2 separate regions of the Homo sapiens genome follow, and region 2 is linked to region 1. Evidence: promoter capture Hi-C in 16 types of primary human blood cells and fetal thymus (Javierre and others, 2016). All regions are on one chromosome and are shown on one strand. Each heading gives the region's core, a stretch centred on a gene start or on the middle of the fragment in contact. The rest is flanking DNA. Distances are from core to core; before and after follow the strand shown. Region 1 holds the start of MIR22HG (MIR22 host gene). Region 2 holds the start of CRK (CRK proto-oncogene, adaptor protein).

Region 1 (2,697 bases), core at 108-2,607:
GCAGGCTCGGGGGATGTGAGCTGGGGAGGGCGGGTCCGTGCTGACACTCAGTCCAAGGGCATGGCCCACGCCAGGCTGAGGGGCCAAGGCGGTCTTGCCTTGGAATTTCTATACTCAGAGGGTAAGAAAGATTGGGGGATACGGGGTGCGGTTCAAATTCCGAAACCCTCTTGGGAGGCATGAACTTTGTGTATCTTCCTTCCCCTGGGTGACCAGTCCAACTCCGTCCGACCTTCCTCTGTCTGAGATAGCTCTGTTCAACCCAGAGGACTCAGCAGCTGCTGAGAGTCTGTGCCAAGCAGGTGCCCTTGGCTGCAGGGCGGGGTGGGCCCAGGGCACTGACCCTCTGACCAGCTGCTCCATCAACCCTCTGGCACTCTGACAGCTCCTAGCCCAATCTGACAGCCAGGATGACAGGCCAAAGGAGTTGGAGGCTGGAACCAGGGCCGGAGGGAGGTGGGGGTGACAGCCTCGCCGGAGGCCATGGGGAGGGGCCAAGAGTTGGCCGAGAGGTGGGGAGAGAGGCAGCCCAGTGATGACTAACCCAGGCGCCCCACCCAGCCAGCCGGCTTCCCAGGCAGTCAGGGCCAGGCCTGGGCTAGGGGCCTCACAATCGGACAGGCTGGGGGGAGGTGCAGAGGTGACCTTCTCTCGGCCCAAGACGGCCAGTTAGTCTGGGGAGCGGGGGTTAGAGTTTCCAGGCCCTCCTCTTGCCCTCTTCCCCCCGCCCAACCACGGTGAAACCCTAACCTTTGGGTTGCATAAGGCCCCGGCACCGCCGCCCCCTACTCCTCTCCCCTCCCCCCTTACATAACATCCCCTGGAGAGAACGAGAGGAGGGGCCGGCCCGCCCAGCGACCCCTTCCCTGCCAGGGCGCTGAACTGGCCCTGACCCAGTGAACGCCGGCAGAGGCAAAGCACCTCCTCGCCGCCCGCTCGGGGGGTCCAGACCCTCCCCAGGCTAGATGGCCGGCCCCTGTATCCTCAGACCGGGGGCCGCCGGGTGAGCCGCCCCCGGCCCTCCGGCCCCTCGGCTCTCCCCCCGCCCCCCGCCACTCCGCCAGCCCTTCCGCCACGACTCCCGTCCCAGACTCTTTCCTCGTAGCTCCTGACACACTAACCCGGCCAGTCCAGGCCCCTCTCCCCGAGGCGCCCCTGCCCCCGCCGCCCCTTCTCCTCCCGGAAGGGCTGGGTGTGGCCGCCCGGACCCCACTTTCACCCTCCATCCCGTTACCGCGGCTCCCCGCTGCGTGACCGGGTCGCCAGCTCACACCCACCTGGTGCTGGGTGTGGGGGTTGCTGCACGAGGGGGAGCAAATCACTGCGTCCGCTCCCCACGGCCGGCGGCGCTGTCTCTTCTCGGCACCCAGCACACACCGGCTCCAGGCTCCGATCAGCTGGCGGCGTCGTGACGCACGAGCTGCGAATGCACGGCCCGGGGCCAATCACCGCCCACTGCTGGGCAACGTGGCCCCGCCCACCCGGGGGCCGACGGGGCCTCGCCCTGGTCCCGCCTCTCCGGGCGCCCTGGCTCTGATTGGCAAGGAGGCCACCCTTTTGCCGGGCGGAATTGCACGAAGCCACGCCCACCCACTGAGGAGCCGGCCAATAGACGGACAGGTGTGGCCCAGCCCTCCGCGTCAGCGACCCGCTTAGAAAAGCGCTACGTCAAACGAGAGTCCTAAAGAGCAGGCGAAAGCCACGGCGTCTGCGTTTGCAATGCATGCTGGTCCGTGTAGTTCTCAGCCTGACACCGTCGTTCCCAGAACCCAGCGCGCTCTGTGAGTTGGCATTTTTAAACTGAGCTCGGAATCCAGCCCGGGGAAGTCCTTAAAGGGCGACAGCCCCTCCTTGTTGGAGTCGTGAGTGCTTCTTTTAGACATTCCCCAAACTGACTCGCCGGCCTCTGCGGGACGCTATAGCTCTTTAAGGAAAGGTGGAGCGGACCAAGGAGCAGGAGTGGGCAGAGCGTCAGCCCCCAGGGCAGCAGAGACTGCCGTTGGAGAGCTCTCCAGGGTTTTTGGAGGAGGGAGGGTGCTCGCCTCGCCCAGCCCACTCCTCCTGGGGGCTCTTCCTAACCACAGGAGGCTTTTTTTCTTGGATGTCTCTTCCCAGTCCCAGAAGAGCCCCCAGAGCCTCCCAAGAGGTAGCTTTCTAACAAAAGATTCATAGCACAGTCCTCACCTTAGGGTAGAGGGAGGGCTTCTGGTCAGAAATTAGGGGATGGGCCATGCCAAAGTGCAAAGGGTCAGCAATCGCATCCTCTGATTAACCCCCATTCAGTCCCGCCCTCCAAAGCTCTTCACTGACTCAGGCCTACTTAGGGAAGAGATTCGAAGGTGGAGACCAATGAGCAGGCTGCTCCTTCCCCAGGGGCCAATCAGAGTCTAGATGAGCGGGGGATGGGCAAAAAGTGAAATGAACCCAGTGACTTGGCAAAAGCTGCTGGTCGGCGTTTTTAAAGGGGCAAGCCGGAGACCTGCCCTACCTTATCAATCCCCGCAAGTCCCCCAAAGAGGAACATGTGGACTGAAATCCATGCCTTTTCCTTCAGCTCCAAATAGGGGCTGAGGGTAACTAAGCAGGAATGATGAGGCTGGAGGGTGAGATCCTTCCTTCTGTTAAATACGCACTCCATCAGGTAATTGATAAGGTTCACTTGGAGCTCCAAAATTCTGAGCCTGCGTTCAGGACATT
Region 2 (2,697 bases), core at 118-2,617, 260 kb before region 1:
GCATCGGTAAGACAGTCAATCTCAGGGATCCCTCCCTGGCAAGGAAAACCCAGCGCAGGTAATTTATGTTCTTGGCGTAGAGTCTGTTCCCAATATCCAGGAAGACTCAGCCCGCAGCCCCATCTTACTGAGCAAGGTGACGCCCTGAAGTACACACCGACAATGTTTAAGTCCAAGGAAAATGAAGTTCCAGTCACTTACAGGGAAGGGTCTGTTTCCATTGCCTCACTTCTGGTTTATTTTGTGGAATAAAATGTCTTTCCTCCACTAAACACTTTGAAAACCAGAACTCTCTAACGGCGGACAGTCTTCTGGACGCTTAGATCTCTTGCACATAGCCAGGCATCGCCTTAAACTGGGTTGGGCTGGTCACTGAAGGCTTTCTGCTACCACTATTTCTTCTAGCACTTAGTTCACCACCTTCGTCCTCCACGGGGGAAGAGAACGGTACAAAGATTTTGGAAAAATGCCCAAGAAAGGAAAAAATTGACCGGTTTCCTGAGGGTGTCTCCATCCCTCCCGGCCAGTATGTGGTGACTTCCTACCAAAGGCCACCAGGGGAGCACGGCCAAACCCGGCTCTCCAACACGGCAGGAAACGTTTCCAGCCTAAAAGCCACTTGTAGGATTATCGGATTCATTCTGGGCGCCGCTGCCAAGTGATGCCCCCGCAGTGCCAACATCTCCCTCAGCTCTTTGTCCCCACGTTGCCTTGCCCTGCCCTACCCTTGCGCCTGGCCCGGGAGCCAGCCCCACCCTGGGGCCGAAGCAGTTCCCCTTCCCCGCGGCTGCCCTCCCCAGGCACACCCCGGGGCCTCGGTCCGCGGCTCCTCCTCCCCCACACTCCTGCTCCCCGGGTGAGAGCGAGCCCGAGCAGCCGGCGGGCCCCTGCCACGGTCACCCAGCCCTCTGCCCACGACCCCCGAGGGTCCGCTCTCGAGGACCAGCCAGCCAGGCTGGGAGTTCCGCGGCCCTCACCCCGCCCAGGGCCCGCCGTCCCGTCAGTCCCTCACCGGGCGGAGGCTGGGCGGGCGACGGTGGCACCGGCGGGCGCGGGCCGCTGCTGTTGATGATGTAGTGGGAGACGCGCGAGTTCTCTGAGACGCTGAGCACATAGTCCCCGGGGCTGGTGCTCGAGTCCCGCACCAGGAACACCCCGTGCCGCTGGCCCTGCAGCAGCGCCACCGCCTCCTGCCGACTCAACCTCCCCCAGTACCAGCTACTCCGCTCCTCCGAGTCGAAGTTGCCCGCCATGGCTGCCTCCGCGCCTAAACGCTGGGGTGCCGCCGCCGCGCGCGCCCCTCCGGCCCCCGGCGCCCGCCGCCCAGCGGACCGGCTCCGGTTTCAGCTTCACAGCAGCGCCCGAAATGGCGGCGGCAGCCGCGGGCCTCCCCCTCCGGAAATGACGCGCTCCCTGCCCGAGGGAGGCTGCCGGGAAGGGGCCCGCGGCCCGCCATTGGGAGAAGGGCAAGGCGCCCTCGCGCGCGCACTGCGCATGCGGATTCATGGGCGGTGCCGCCCTTCCCGGGCCCGGGCTGCGGGGGATGGGAGGCGGGGTCTAGGGCCCGAGGGGCGGGGCCTCGCAGCCTCCCGCAGAGACGCGCGCCTGCGCTGCGGACAGAGCGGTGCTTCTCGTCTGGGCCCCGGTTCCTGGACGACCTGGGACTTCTAGGCAGCGACTCCCAGACAGAATTGGAGGAGAAAAGATGCGTGTGGCCCTGGGGCCTGAGTTCTCGGCCAGGCTTCCTGCGATATCAGTCTGTTTCTTTTTTCTTTTTCTTTTTGAGACGGAGTCTTGTTCTGTCGCCCACGCTGGAGTGCAATGGCGCGATCTCGGCTCACTGCTCCCGGGTTCAAGCGATTCTCCTGCGTCAGCCTCCCGAGTAGCTGAGACTACAGGCGTGAGCCACCGCGCCCGGCTGTTTTTTGTATTTTTAGTAGAGACGGGGGTTTCACCATGTCGGCCAGGATGGTCTCAATCTCCTGACCTCAGGTGATCCGCCCGCCTCGGCCTCCCAAAGTGCTGGGATTACAGGCGAGAAACATCGCGCCCGGCCACGTCGGTCCGTTTCTGCTCGTTCCTCTAGCTTCTCCACAGACCAGCTGACGTTCTCATTTTCATTGATTCACCTAGGACATTGTTGTTGACACTCCACTTGCACTGCGGGTGCAAAGGTTATCATGGCTGGGCCCTGCACTCCTCGAACTCACAGACCAGTGAGAGGAACCAGGAAACTGGATGACAAAAGGATGACAAATGCTGACAAACGCTATCATGGGAAACGGACATGAACACAGAGCAGAGCCCCCACAGCCAGTCTATGGAGTAATCCAGGAGGGCTTCCCAGAGGAGGCAGCATGTGTTGACTGCTGAATGACAAATGGGGAAGGACATTCTTTCTTTTTTTTTTTTTTTTTTTTTTGAGATGGAGTCTCGCTCTGTCGCCCAGGCTGGAGTGCCTGGGCGTGATCTCGGCTCACTGCAAGCTCCGCCTCCCGGGTTCACGCCATTCTCCTGCCTCAGCCTCCCGAGTTGCTGGGACTGCAGGCACCCGCCACCACGCCCGGCTAACTTTTTGTATTTTTAGTAGAGATGGGGTTTCACCGTGTTAGCCAGGCTGGTCTCGATCTCCTGACCTTGAGATCCGCCCACCTCGGCCTCCCAAAGTGCTGGGATTACAGGCGTGAGCCACCGCAC

The links. Contacts are between HindIII fragments. The CHiCAGO score rates a contact against its expected background, and 5 or more counts as called.
Region 2: a contact is called between the fragment with the promoter of CRK here and the fragment with the promoter of MIR22HG in region 1, in 1 of 17 cell types (neutrophils). The highest score is 6.1, in neutrophils.

The regions. Positions count from the first base shown.
Region 1 is chr17:1,714,853-1,717,549 of GRCh38, forward strand. It overlaps MIR22HG (MIR22 host gene), which reads right to left and starts at 1,358. Exons shown (of 3, transcript NR_028505.2): 1 at 1,278-1,358. It also overlaps a transcript of WDR81 not described here. RefSeq lists an enhancer at 1,505-2,146. The HindIII fragment of the contact is 4,707 bases long and covers 1-2,697 here.
Region 2 is chr17:1,454,865-1,457,561 of GRCh38, forward strand. CRK (CRK proto-oncogene, adaptor protein) reads right to left here and starts at 1,368. Exons shown (of 3, transcript NM_016823.4): 1 at 1,013-1,368. The coding sequence starts at 1,253. RefSeq lists an enhancer at 537-1,522 and silencers at 787-916, 1,027-1,086, 1,177-1,676. The HindIII fragment of the contact is 20,688 bases long and covers 1-2,697 here.